3 separate regions of the Homo sapiens genome follow, and all the other regions are linked to region 3. Evidence: promoter capture Hi-C in 16 types of primary human blood cells and fetal thymus (Javierre and others, 2016). All regions are on one chromosome and are shown on one strand. The core of a region is centred on a gene start or on the middle of the fragment in contact, and the rest is flanking DNA. Distances in the headings are between cores, read along the strand shown. Region 1 holds the start of LOC105375363 (a long non-coding RNA gene). Region 2 overlaps PTPN12 (protein tyrosine phosphatase non-receptor type 12). Region 3 holds the start of DDX3ILA1 (DDX3 interacting lncRNA 1).

Evidence for each region. Contacts are between HindIII fragments. The CHiCAGO score rates a contact against its expected background, and 5 or more counts as called.
Region 1: a fragment that was not itself captured here is called in contact with the fragment with the promoter of DDX3ILA1 in region 3 in 5 of 17 cell types (total B cells, total CD4 T cells, activated CD4 T cells and 2 more); the score reaches 7.7 in total B cells.
Region 2: a contact is called between a fragment that was not itself captured here and the fragment with the promoter of DDX3ILA1 in region 3, in 2 of 17 cell types (naive B cells and total B cells). The highest score is 5.4, in naive B cells.

What each region holds. Positions count from the first base shown.
Region 1 is chr7:77,648,517-77,653,498 of GRCh38, reverse strand. It overlaps LOC105375363 (a long non-coding RNA gene), which reads right to left and starts at 158. Exons shown (of 3, transcript XR_927695.3): 1 at 1-158. The HindIII fragment of the contact is 253 bases long and covers 1,671-1,923 here.
Region 2 is chr7:77,631,880-77,636,750 of GRCh38, reverse strand. PTPN12 (protein tyrosine phosphatase non-receptor type 12) reads right to left here. Exons shown (of 18, transcript NM_002835.4): 14 at 4,326-4,403; 15 at 902-969. Among named protein-coding and RNA genes, the nearest start is that of APTR, 62 kb to the left of the region's middle. The HindIII fragment of the contact is 5,173 bases long and covers 1-4,743 here.
Region 3 is chr7:77,987,377-77,991,893 of GRCh38, reverse strand. DDX3ILA1 (DDX3 interacting lncRNA 1) reads right to left here and starts at 1,503. Exons shown (of 3, transcript NR_183362.1): 1 at 1,217-1,503; 2 at 712-910. RefSeq lists an enhancer at 830-2,029. The HindIII fragment of the contact is 6,416 bases long and covers 1-4,517 here.

The DNA.
Region 1 (4,982 bases), core at 548-3,047, 340 kb after region 3:
AAGTTTTTTTTTTTTGGAGATACAGGTTCTTGCTAGGATGCCCAGTTTGTAGTGCAGTGGCTATTGACAGATGATATACCACACTGTGGCCTCAAATTTCTGGGCGCAAATAATCCTCCCACTTCAGCCTCCTGAGTAGCTGGGACGATAGGCACATGCCACTGCGCCCAGCTTCAAGAAGTTTGTTTTTTTTTTTTTTTTGAGACATAGTCTTGCTCTCTTGCCCAGGCTGAAGTGCAATGCCGCGATCTCGTCTCACTGCAACCTCCGCATCCCGGGTTCAAGCGATTCTTTTGCCTCAGCCTCCCAAGTAGCTGGGATTACAGGGGACTGCCACCACACCCAGCTAATATTTGTATTTTTAGTAGAGATGGAATTTCACCATGTTAGCCAGGCTGGTCTTTAACTCCTGACTTCAGGTGATCCACCCGCCTCGGCCTGCCAAAATGCTGGGATTACAGGTGTGAGCCACCATGCCTGGCGAACTCATAGGCTTTAAAACATATGTCTTGGGGACTGGGCGTGGTGGCTCACACCTGTAATCCCAGGACTTTGGGAGGCCGAGGCAGGCGGATCACGAGGTTAAGATATCGAGACCATCCTGGCTAACATGGTGAAACTCCGTCTCTACTAAAAATACAAAAAAAAAAATTAGCTGGGCACGGTGGTGTGTGACTGTAGTCCCAGCTACGCAGGAGGCTGAGGCAGGAGAATCGCTTGAACCCGGGAGGGGGAGGTTGCAGTGAGCCGAGATTGCACCACTGCACTCCAGCCTGGCCATAAAGTCTCGTCTCAAAAAAAAAAATTACACACAATATATATATATATATACACACACACACATACATACATACACACGTGTGTGTGCGTGTGTGTGTGTGTGTGTCTTGGACTCACGCCTGTAATCCCAGCATTTTGGGAGGATGAAGCGGGTATATCACTTGAGGTGAGGAGTTGGAGACCAGCCTGGCCAACATGGTGAAACCCTGTCTCTACTAAAAATACAAAAATTAGCCGGGTATGGTGTCAGGCGTCTGTACTCCCAGCTACTTGGGAGGCTGAGACAGGAGAATCACTTGAACCTGGGAGGCAGAGGTTACAGTGACCACAGATCATGCCGCTGCACTCCAGCATGGGCGCCAGAGCAAGACTGTTTCAAATAAATAAATAAATCATAAAATAAAATAAAGCTTATCAGTGACCCTTGACTTAACTAGCCCCTTTTTCAACTGAGTTAACTAGCACATATGTTTCTTATCCATTAAAGCCTGTATTCCTATCTTCTCTGAAATGTAGAAGCATATAATAGGGTCAGTAGTTAAGAGTGAGGATTTTAGAATAGGAGCTAGATTTAAATTGTGGCTTTGTACTACTTTGTGTGACTTTATAAACATTATCTAAAGTCTGTATTTTTCAGATTCATTCATAAGACAGTCTACCTCATGAGGTTTTTGTGAAGTTTGAATAAATATGTATACAGAGATTAGCAGTGTCTAGCACACGGAAAGCATTCAACAAGGTCAATGATTTTTATTTGACAGGCCTCAGTCTGCAGGAACATATATTTAAGCTTTAAGATTTGCTCAAGCCTCTTGCAAAATGGTCTATGGGGCCTCTGGCAGTAGGGACTTCATATACACTCCCAAACACTGAAGCCACCCAAACAAGCTTTTGTACTAAGCTCTCTGAATTTCGAGTGACTTTTCTAAATTTTTTGACCCATAAATTTCCTCTTGGTTTGCTTTGCTGCCCTCTTCTGGTGGAATGGCAAAAGAGTTAGATGACATTTCCAATCCCTACTGCCACTCAAACTGCTAAAAGCTATCAATATTTTGAATCCTTAGTCAAAGAATCCAACTTGCAAAAATCTCTGGCCTTACATTCAAGTCAATTCAAATGAAAATAAAGTCTAAACGTAAAGCTTCTACCTATGAATTTCAATTTATTTCTATTACATGGAAAGTGATATTGGTAGGTAGAATAATTATTAAAATGGACTACTCATTTTAGGTTGAAAAGATCTAAGAATATTTTGTTATTCTGAATGGCAACAGAAAATTCCTTATAAACTGCATTTCACTTTTCTGAAACAGTGAAATGTGTACATATAGAGTCTTAATTTTAAAAAACTTTTTTCCTAGGCTGGGCACAGTGGCTTACGACTGTAATCCCAGCACTTTGGGAGGCCGAGGCGGGCGGATCACGAGGTCAGGAGTTTGAGACCACCCTGGCCAACAGAGTAAAACCCCATCTCTACTAAAAATACAAAAATCAGTCGGGCATGGTGGCACATGCCTGTAGTCCCAGCTACTTGGGAGACTGAGGCAGGAGAATCGCTTGAACTCGGGAGGCAGAGGTTGCAGTGAGCCTAGATCATGCCACTGCACTCCAGCCTGGGCAACAGAGCAAGACTACATCTCAACAAACAAACAAACAAACAAACAAAAACCAACCAACCAAACCAAAAAAACCCTTCTTTCCTAACGTTAACATCAGCTAATCTCTATATCTTCCAAACTATAATACCTATGTATTATCCTGGTATTTAAAAATTTTAGCATAGAAACTGCATGCAAAATGTTACTGTGTACTTCCTTCAAATACAATGAGAAAGGTAAATACTTAGCCTAATACAGAAAATTATTTAAATCACTTTAACAATTTTCACATTGTTTTGGAAGATATTGTAAACATTCTAGGCTAGGCATGGTGGCTTATGCCTGTTAATCCCAGCACTTTGGGAAGCCGAGGCAGGAGGATCGCTTGAGCCCAGTAGTTCGGTCTGGGCAACATGGCGAAACCCCATCTCTACTGAGAAATACAAAACTTAGCTGGGCGTGGTGGCATGCGCCTGTGGTCCCAGCTACTCGGGAAGCTGAGGTGGGAGGACTGCTTGAGCCTGGAAGGTCAAGGCTGCAGTGAGCCATGACTGCTCCACTGCACACTCCAGCCTGGGTGACAGAGTGAGACTCTGTCTCAAAAAGAAAAAGAAAAAGAAATATTCTAGGTTGTATATAGACAAAGCTAAAATTTAGAAGCAAATGTGCAGAAAGTTTGTACATTTGAATTTTCATTAAACTGCTAATCCTACTGTAGAATTTTGTGATCAGAAAAACATTTCCTTGGTCCTTGATTTTCAGAAAAACATATTTTAAGGAGAAATATACATTGTTTTCTTGTTTACTTCATATTGGCTGTTTGGGTATAAATCTGTAGAAGTTAAAAATATGTTCTTTTTGAAGTATTGGCAAGAGTTCTAAAGTTACAAATACTAGTACATTAAGTCATGATAACAGCACTTATGCCACGTTATCTCTACAAAATGTAAAATGACTGGAATCTTTGGAATTCCCTTCCCCCACTAATTCAACAAAGCTCAGATTTGTCGTACTTTAGAACAGAGAGACTATCTCCTTGAGCTACCCAAGCATTGCTGCTTTTACTGGTCAAATTATTTACGATCTGAATATTGGTCATTTGCATATTTTATAGGAATTATGCACCTTGGAGACAAGGGAACAGGTTGCAGCAAATCTGTTAAAAATACAGTTTATGTTCAAAACTAGATCTACTTTCCATGTTTAGCACAATATGCAAGGGTTGCTTATTGAGTGGAAATATGCCAAAATCTGGGTTAAAGCCTTTGCAGTTCTCTATTTGCCAGAATGAAAACATGAATTTCTGGCCTTTAAGGCTGTGTAACGAAGACCCAGAATTGAAGAATAAAGTACTAAAAAACTGAAATTAACTTTATACACCATTATTTAGAAAGTTATTAATATAATCTGAATTTTTGATACCTAGAATAGCCATTAAAAGCAGGCAATTAGGAGATACCTCTGTAAAAGGCCAAAAGCAACAAGAACTTTACTAAAACCAGCATAAAAGTGAGCTAATTCAATTTAGTATTGTATTTAATATTAAACCAAAATGATTTCATAGATTGCAATAGAGTACCAAATATAGGCCGGGTGCGGTGGTTCACACCTGTAATCCCAGCACTTTGGGAGGCCAAGACCACCAGATGGCTTGAGTCCAGGAGTTTGAAACCAGCCTGGGCAACATGGTGGAACCCCGTCTCTACAAAAAATACAAAAATTGTCCAGGCTTGCTAGTGCGCTCCTGTAGTCCCAGCTACCTGGGAGGCTGAGGTGGGAGGATCGCTTGACCCCAGGGAGTGGAGGTTGCAGTGAGCTGAGATGGTGCTACTCCATTCCAGCCTGGGTAACAGAGTGGGACCCTGTCTCAAAAAAAAAAAAAAAAAGTACTAAATATATATCAACAAAAATATTACAATCCAAAAACCGTTTTAAGGCTAAATATAAGGAAGATGCCGTTCTTCACTGGAATTTCTCTCAAAAGCTTCAGATTGCATTAATTCATTTTATTGCTCCCCTTTAAATTAGGCACAAAATTGTCTCTTTTTAGTTTAACTCTGAAAACATTTTTTTCTTTCCCCTTCCTTCCTTCCCTCCCTTCCTTCCTTCTCCCTTCCCTCCTTTCTTTCTCTTTCTTTTCTTCCCCTTTCCCTCCTTCTCTTTCTTCTCCTTCCCTTCCTTCTTTCCTTTCTTTCTTTCTTTTTCTTTCTTTCTCACTATAACCTTGAACTCTCAGGCTGAAGCAATCCTCCTGCCTTGGCCTCCCGAGTAGCTGGGACTACAGGTGAGCACCGCAATTTGCTACTTTTCTTTGTTTCTTTCTTTTTTTTGAGACGGAGTCTTGCTCTGTCACCCAGGCTGGAGTGCAGTGGCCTGATCTCAGCTCACTGCAACCTCCACCTCCCAGATTCAAGCGATTCTCCTGCTTCAGCCTCCCAAGTAGCTGGGACCACAGGCGCGTGCCACCACATCCTGCTAATTTTTTATATTTTTAATAGAGACAGGTTTTCACCGTGTTACCCAGGATGGTCTCATCTCCTGACCTCATGATCCAACTGCCTTGGCCTCCTAAAGTGTTGAGATTACAGGCATGAGCCACTGCAC
Region 2 (4,871 bases), core at 908-3,407, 360 kb after region 3:
TACTAATTATATCATTATTGTATTTTATATGTCAATTAAACTACATCATGTCTTAAAATCAAATATAAGATGTAGCTAAATTTCAGAGATATTAAAGTATGGGAGAAAATACAAAAAGTATTAATGTTAATAAAAAATGTTATCTCCTATGGACAAATGTGTTGTTGCTGAGACAGGGTCTCACTCTGTCACTCAGGCTGGAGTGCAGTGGTGTGATCATGGCTCACTGCAGCCTTGACCTCTGGGGCCCAAGCAATCCTCCCATCTCAGCCTCCCAAAAAGCTGGGACCATAGACATGCGCCACCACGCCTGGCTAATTTTAAAAATTTTTGTAGAGATAAGGTCTCCCCATGTTGCCCAGGATGGTCTTGAACTCCTGGGCTCAAGTGATCCTTCTGCTTGGCCTCCCAAAGTGCTGTGATTACAGACATGAGCCACCATGCCACGCCCTCAAAATATTTAATTGCCAAAACATTTCTCGAATGTCAAAGAAATGCCAGGTAGCCAGAAAAAAACAAAAGAAGCGACTATGTGCCTAGTGTTATAATGGGAAGCATCTAGAAATGTAAGAAAGAATTAGGACCCTGAAAATAGTAACTCCTATTTCATTCATACCTTCAAAATTATTTGAAGCATAATTTACATATTTCAAAAACAGCTTGAGAAAACAATACTTTAAAGTGATAGTTGTATGTAGATCAGGTTACCCTTTTAAAAAATTTCAGAACCTACCTTTTATATGGGCTTTTCATCTGAAATCTTAGTATAAGAAATGCCGATCAAAAATTACAAACTATATTTAACGATCTTAAGATGACAGCTATTTCAACAACTGCAAGATTAGTTAACAAAAGAGTAGAAATGTTAAGCTATAACTGTTCCAATTCCAAAAGGACTTACTTCAGACTTTTTTTGTTCAGATCGTTCCTGACTTTGAAGTTCACTCCATTCCGATCTTACAGGTGTATCTGAGAAAAATGAAATCTTATTGTTATTAACACCTTGAATTTCTGAAATTTCTTTGCATTAAAGTAATACAAAAAACAGATCCTAAAGATTTTAGAAACTATCGCTTCCACAAAAATTTTGTAGTTTCTGGGTAAGCATATTTCTGAAGTTTCTAAAAAAAAAAAATTGTAGTTTCTATTAATTCGAGAACATTCTGTTTCCTTCCTTCAAAACCTAAGTAAATAAATTCAGTCATCAGTGTATTACAGTCTATAGATAATGTGACAGACAAGTGAAGTATACTGCTTAATCTACAGACAACGTGACAGACTTAGACAACTGAAGTATACCGTTTCATTGCTTTCAACATTCTTTTTAATTGTTGTTGAGACAGGGTCTCACTCTGTTGACCAGGCGCGATCTCGGCTCACTGGAGCCTCAACCTCCCAGGCTCAGGCAATCTTCCCATCTCAGCTTCTTGAGTAGCTGGGACTATAGGTGCATGCCACCTCGCCTGGCTAATTTTTGATTTTATACAGACAGGGTTTTGCCATGTTGCCCAGGCTGGTCTCAAACTCCTAGGGCAAATGGAACAGAGATCCACCTGCCTTGGTCTCCCAAAGTGCTGGGATCACAGGCATAAGCCATTGTGCTTGGCTCTTTAACATTTATCTTAAAATCAGTCAAAATTCACTTTGGGAGGCTGAGGCAGGCAGATCACTTGAGGTCAGGAGTTCAAGACCAGCCTGGCCAACATGGTGAGACCCTATCTCTAATAAAAAAATTAGTTGGGAGTGACGGTGTATGCCTCTAATCGCAGCTACTCAGGAGGCTGAGGCAGGAGAACAGCTTGAGCCCAGATCGTGCCACTGCACTCCAGCCTGAGTGACAGAGTGGAACTCCAACTCGAAATAAAACAAAACAAGGCCGGGCGTGGTGGCTCCCGCCTGTAATCCCAGCACTTTGGGAGGCTGAGGCGGGCGATCACGAGGTCAGGAGATGGAGACCATCCTGGCTAACATGGTGAAACCCTGTCTCTACTAAAAAAATACAAAAAAATTAGCCGGGCGTGGTGGCTCATGCCTGTAATCCCAGCACTTTGAGAGGCTGAGGTGGGCGGATCATGAGGTCAGGAGATGGACCATCCTGGCTAACACGGTGAAACCCTGTCTCTACTAAAAAAAATACAAAAAAATAAGCCGGGTGTGGTGGCAGGCACCTGTAGTCCCAGCTACATGGGAGGCTGAGGCAGGAGAATGGCATGAACCCAAGAGGTGGAGCTTGCAGTGAGCCGAGATCGTGCCACTGCACTCCAGCCGGGGCGACAGAATGAGACTCCATCTCAAAAAAATGAATAAATAAAAAATAAATAAATAAAAAGAAAACCAAATGAAACAAAACAAAAATCAGTCAAAATTAATATATTGGTAAAATGTACTTAGACAAGTGAGCACCTCCACTGAGCATGAGACACTGTAAATACAATCAAGCTGTTTCTGCACTCTTTTTTAGAGGATTAATAGGGAGAAGTATATTATCAATGTTTTAAAGTATCATCACTTTCTCCCAGTTCTGATACTCCAGTGGTCTTTTTTTTTTCTTCCACAGACGGGGTCTCACTGTTACCAAACTGGAGTACAGTGGTGCGATCATGGCTCACTGCAGCCTCCAACTACAGGGATCAAGCAATCCTTCTTCTTCAGCCTCCTGAGTAGCAAGGACTACAGGCACATGCCACCACACCTGGCTAATTTTTTGTTGTTATTATTATTTTTTGAGACAAAGTTTTTTGCTCTTGTTGCCCAGGCTGGAATGCAATGGCGTGGTCTCAGCTCGCTGCAACCTCTGCATCCTGGGTTCAAGCAATTCTCCTGCCTCAGCCTCCCAAGCAGCTGGGATTACAGGCGCCCACCACCACAACTGGACAGTTATTTTATTTTTAGAAGAGAGGAGGTATCACTGTGTTGCCCAGGCTGGTCTCAAACTCTTAGGCTCAAGCAATCCTCGCGCCTTGGACTCCCAAAGTGCTGCGATTACAGGTATGAGCCAATGTGCTCAGTCTACTCCAGTGGTGTTAAATGTCTTTCAGTTAACACCAATCCAGTGACGCCCACCCAACAGAAATGTTTACTGACCTAAATCTAAGGAAAGCAATTAATGTTTTCATAAATAAGTGCTACTTTTTTTTTTTTTGAGATGGAGTCTTGCTCTGTTGCCCAGGCTGGAGTGCAGTGGCATGGTCTCGGCTCACTCCAACCTCTGCCTCCGGGGTTCAAGCGATTCTCCTGCCTCAGCCTCCCGAGCAGCTGGGACTACTGGTGCATGCCACCACACACAGCTAATTTTTTGTATTTCTAGTAGAGACAGGGTTTCAGTGTGTTAGCCAGGATGGTCTTGATGTCCTGACCTCGTGATCTGCCCGCCTTGGTCTCCCAAAGTGGCAGGATTACAGGCATGAGTCAATAAGTGCTATTTTTAATGAATGAAAATACACCAGATTGCAAATACACTTATAATTGCATTTTTTTTTTAAGATGGAGTTTCGCTCTTGTTGCCCAGGTTGGAGTGCAATAGTGTGATCTCGGCTCACTGCAATATCCACCTCCCAGGTTCAAGCAATTCTCCTGCCTCAGTCTCCCAAGTAGGTGGGATTACAGGCATGCGCCACCACGCCTGGCTAATTTTGTATTTTTAGTAGAGACGGGGTTTCTCCATGTTGGTCACGCTGGTCTTGAACTCCTGACCTCAGGTGATCAGTGCATCTCAGCCTCCCAAGGTGCTGGGATTACAGGTATGAGCCACTGCACCTGGCTTTGTAATTGCATTTATTTATTTATTTACTTTTTGAGACGAAATCTTGCTCTTCGCCCAGGCTGGAATGCAATGGCGCAATCTCGGCTCACTGCAACCTCCAACTCCCGGGTTCAAGTCATTTTCCTGCCTCAGCCTCTCAAGTAGCTGAGATTATAGGTGTCCACCACCATGCCCAGCTAATTTTTATATTTTTAGTAGAGATGGAGTTTCACCATGTTGGCCAGGCTGGTCTCCAACTCCTGACCTCAGGTGATCCACCTGCCTAGGCCTCCCAAAGTGCTAGGATCACAGGCTTGAACCACCATGCCCAGCCTATAATTACATTTAAATGAATTGAATTCTGATATCTAACATAAATGCAGTAATTTCTATCGATCTTAGCAAGTAAAAAATATAATTTAAAAGCATTTTTCAAACAAAGAATTAAAAGCATGTCAACATCAATTTACTTGTTTTTGAATTTAATTATGTAGCACAATAGCTAATAGATTAAAATCAGGTATGTTTTTCGGAGTTTATTATTAGAATATGAAGTAAATGTAAAAGCAAAAGAGACACTCACTATGTTCACTTGCTAACACAAACGATTCAGGAGTTCTTTCAGGTAGGGGAGGAGGTGAATCTTCACTAACATCAACATCTAAATTAAACACATAAAAATTTAGACAAATTAACATGTCATCTAAACAAAATCAGAGAGCTTTCTTGACATTCTAAAAATTCCTGTCACAAATATCTAGATCAGTTTTTAAAAATGCAAAAAAATGCAAGAAACCTTTTCCACTCATTATCAAGAATTATGATGCTTATTGAGCAAAGATAATGTATACAGAAATGACTCTCTCCCATGACTTTCCTGTCACTCTACAGACATCATTCAGTTCTCCAAGCCTGAAGGGAATCTTCAGTAGAGAAGTCAGCTGGCAAGTGACTTCTCTACTGAGCTTACTGATGATGTTTTGTGTCCAAAAAGGAAAGCTTTGGTCATTTGCGTTATGAAACGCCTAAGCCAGTGTTTCCCAAACAGGATTCAATTGCTTAACACCTTTCATGATTTTTGCCATACTATGTAACATGTGTCCTATTCACTTTTAAAATCTGACTCATT
Region 3 (4,517 bases), core at 254-2,753:
GTTCTCATTAAACTTTCAAGGTTCTGGACTCCAGGCTGTGGCGTGTTTATTTCTGTCTACACCTTCCCCTCAGACAGGTTTAGTGCCCATCTTTCTCATGCAGAGGGCATCCCAGAGCCTAGTGCTCCCAGTCTTTCTCCTTTACTTATTACCTTTCAGGCTCAAACTCATCCACCTGTTTCAACAGAACAACAGCTGAGAAATAGAGCAGGTCTCCTCCTTCACAGACCGCTTAACTCCTGCCTCGCCTCTGCCTTCTGTACAGGCTTGATAGTCAGGTGCATGGTCCAGAGGCCTCCACGTGCAGAAAACAAGACCAGGCTGCCAGCCTCTTCCCCAAAGCATCCTGGGTTTCTTCTCTGAGAGTGCCACAGCATTCTCTCTCCTTTAAGGCCTTGGGTGTGTTCACAGAGTCTCATCGCAGGCTGCTGCCCACTGGCACCTCATGTAATCTCAGTGAGACCATTCACGTTCTGGGCATCCAGGACCATGAGGATAACCCTATAGCCACTTCATATTACTGTGCCAAGCACATTACCTCACTTAATTCTCACTTAACTCACTTAATTTAACCCCAAGAGGGCTGATATTCAGATGGTTGGCACCGGTAAGTCCTAATGAATTATTTATAATCCACTTCTATTCTCAGTGGCCTGGGACATACCAGTTGTGAAAGGTATTAAATATGACCTGGAGGTAGATGTCACTTACAGTTTTCAAAGGAGGAGATGGAGGCCCTGAGTTATCCTGGAAGAGCGGGAGGGCGCAAGGCATTTCTCAAAAGAAGACACACAGAAACTACAACAGGGATCACCACGGCAGACAGGAGGCAGAACCAGATTGCAGCTCCGACTTGGACAGACAGAGCAGCATACGGAGGCTCACATCATGAATTTTAGCTCCAGAACAACTGCAGGAATAAACCAGGAATGCCGAGAGGACCCACAGACCCTCTTGAAGGAAGCAGACTGCTCCTGCAGGACCCAGGAGACACCCCAAATCCTGTGAGTGCCCCAACTGTGGAAGTGGGAAAAGGAGACCCTCCGCCCCCGAACACACACCCCCACTGGGGAAACTGAAGGCCTAGTTTGCGAAAGAAGTTTCCGACCTTACCTGGAGCTGAGTCAATTTAGAGAGCCGAGTGAACTACAAGGGTAAAGGAAGCAGTGGGAAAGGCCCTGGGAGCTCGCTGGGACCCCAAGCAGGCCATTCTTACCTGGCACCACCAGGATCCTTCAGGAGGGCAGCTAGAGGTGTGGGGAAAATGCCACAGGGAGAAGGAAGTCTCCAGCTGAACTTCATAACAATTTGAACCAGGCAAGAAGCCTCCTGGCCAGAACTCTGGGGAGAACGGGAATCCAGCATGCAGACTCCACAGGTGGGGGAAGAACTGAGCCCTTTTCCTTTGCAGCTGGGAGGTGGGTAGTCTGGGGCAATTCTCAGCCCTGCTTGCCCACTGCCTGGAAACAGATTTGGTGCTGTTAGGGGAGGCACTGTGGGAGTGAGACCAGCCCTTTGGATTGCGTGGGAGCTGGGTGAGGCCTGTGACTGCTGGCTTTCCCCCACTTCCCTGACAACCCGCATGACTCAGCAAAGGCAGCCATAATCCTCCTAGGTACACAACACTATTGACCCAGGAACCTCATCCCCATTCCTGACAGCAGCCGCAGCAAGACCTGCCCAACCAAGGAGAGTCTGAGTTGAGACACACCTAGCCCTGGTCCTTCCCTACCCACGCTGGCAACTGAAGACAAAGGGTATATATTCTTGGGAGTTCTAGGGCCCTGCCCACTGCCAGTTCCTCCTCATACTACCACAGCTGATGCTCTCTGGAAAGCGCCACCTCCTGGCAGGAAGCCAATCAGCACAAAAATAGAGCATTAAACCACCAAAGCTAAGAACCCTCAAAGAGTCCATTATACAACCCTGCCACTTCCACCAGAACAGATGCTGGTATCCATGGCTGAAAGACCCATAGATGGTTCACATCACAGGACTCTGCAGACAACTCCCAGTACCAGCCCAAAGTCTGGTATGCTTGCTGGGTGGCTAGACCCAGAAGAGAGATAACAATCACTGCAGCTTGGTTCTCAGGAAGCCATATCCATAGGACAAGGGGGAGAATACTACATCAAGGGAACACCCCATGGGACAAAAGAATCTGAACAGCAAGCAGCCTTCAGCCCTAGACCTTCCCTTTGACAGAGCCTACCCAAATGAGAAGGAACCAGAAAACCAACTCAAGTAATATGACAAAATAAGGCTCTTTAACACCCCCAAAAATTTCACTAGCTCAACAGCAATGGATCCAAACAAAGAAGAAATCCCTGATTTACCTGAAAAAGAATTCAAGAGGTTAATTATGAAGCTAATCAGGGATGCACCAGAGAAAGGTGAAGCCCAATGCAAGGAAATCCAAAAAACGATACAAGAAGTGAAGGGAGAAATATTCAAGAAAATAGATAGCATGAAGAAAAAACAATCAAAACTTCAGGAAACATTGGACACATTTATAGACAAATGCTCTGGAAAGTCTCAATAGTAGGGTTGAACAAGCAGAAGAAAGAAATTCAGAGCTTTGTAGGATTAACCTAATCCTACAAAGACAAAGAAAAAAGAATGAAAAAATATTAACAAAGCCCCCATGAAGTCTGAGATTATATTAAATGACCAAACCTAAGAATAATCAGTGTTCCTGAGGATGAAGAGAAATCTAAAATTTGGAAGATATATTTGGGGAAATAATCAAGGAAAACATCCCCAGCCTTGCTAGAGACCTAGACATCCAAATACAAGAAGCACAAAGAACACCTGGGAAATTCATCACAAAAAAAATCATTGCCTAGGCACACTGTCATCAGGTTATCTAAAGTTAAGATGAAGGAAAGAATCTTAAGAGCTGTGAAATAAAAGCACCAGGTAACCTATAAAGGAAAACGTTTCAGATTAACAGCAGATTTCTCAGCAGAAACCCTGCAAGCTAGAAGGGATTAGGGCCCTATCTTCATCCTCCTCAAACAAAACAATTATCAGCCAAGAGTTTTGTAACCAGCAAAACTAAGCATCATATTTGAAGGAAAGATACAGTCTTTTTCAGACAAACAAATGCTGAGAGAATTCGCCACTACCAAGCTACCACAACAAGAACTGCTAAAAGGGCTGTAAATCTTGGAACAAATCCTGGAAACACATCAAAACAGAACCTCTTTAAAGCATAAATCTCACAGGACCTATAAAACAAAAATACGATTTAAAAAGCAAGAACAAAAAACCAAGGTACACAGGCAACAAATAGCATGATGAATGGAATGGTACATCACATCTCAATACTAACATTGACTGTAAATGGCCTAAGTGCTCCACTTAAAAGATACAGAACTGCAGAATGGATAAGAACTCACCAACCAACTATCTGCTGCCTTCAGGAGACTCACCTAACACATAAGGACTCACATAAACTTCAAGTAAAGGAGTGGAAAAAGTCATTTCATGCAAATGGATACCAAAAGCAAGCAGAGGTAGCTATTCTTACATCAGACAAAAAAATCTTTAAAGCAATAGCAGTTAAAAAAGACAAAGAGGGACATTATATAATGGTAAAAGGCCTTGTCCAACAGGGAAGTATCACAATCCTAAACATATATGCACCTAACACTGGAACTCCCAAATTTATAAAACAGTTACTAGTAGACCTAAGAAATGAGATAGACAGCAACACAATAATAGTGGGGGACTTCAATACTCCACTGACAGCACTAGACAGGTCATCAAGACAGAAAGTCAACAAAGAAACAATGGATTTAAACTATACCTTGGAAGAAATGGACTTAACAGATACATACAGGACATTTCATCCAACAACCACAGAATACACATTCTATTCAACAGCACATGGAACTTTCTCCAAGATAGACCATATGATAGGCCACAAAATGAGCCTCAATAAATTTAAGAAAATTGAAATTATATCAAGCACTCTCTCAGACCACAGTGGACTAAAACTGGAAATCAACTCCTGCTGGTTCCCCAATTTTGCAGTTGTGAATTGTGCTGTTATAAACATGTGTGTGCCAGTATCTTTTTCATATAATGACTTCTTTTCCTCTGGGTAGATACCCAGTAGTGGGATTGCTGGATCAAATGGTAGCTCTACTTTTAGTTTTTTAGGGGATCTCCACACTGTTTTCCATAGTGGCTATAAAAACCCTTCCAGACATTGGCTTAGGCAAGGGTTTCATGACCAAGAACTCAAAACCAAATGCAATAAAAACAAAGATAAATAGCTGGGACTTAATTAAACTACAGAGCTTTTGCATGGCAAAAGGAACAGTCAGCAGAGTAAACAGACAACTCACAGAGTGGAAGAGAATCTTCACAATCTATACATCTGACAAAGGACTAATATACAGAATCTACAATGAACTCAAACAAATCAGCAAGAAAAAAACAAACAATCCCATCAAAAAGTGGGCTAAGGACATGAACAGACAATTCTCAAAAGAAGATATACAAATGGC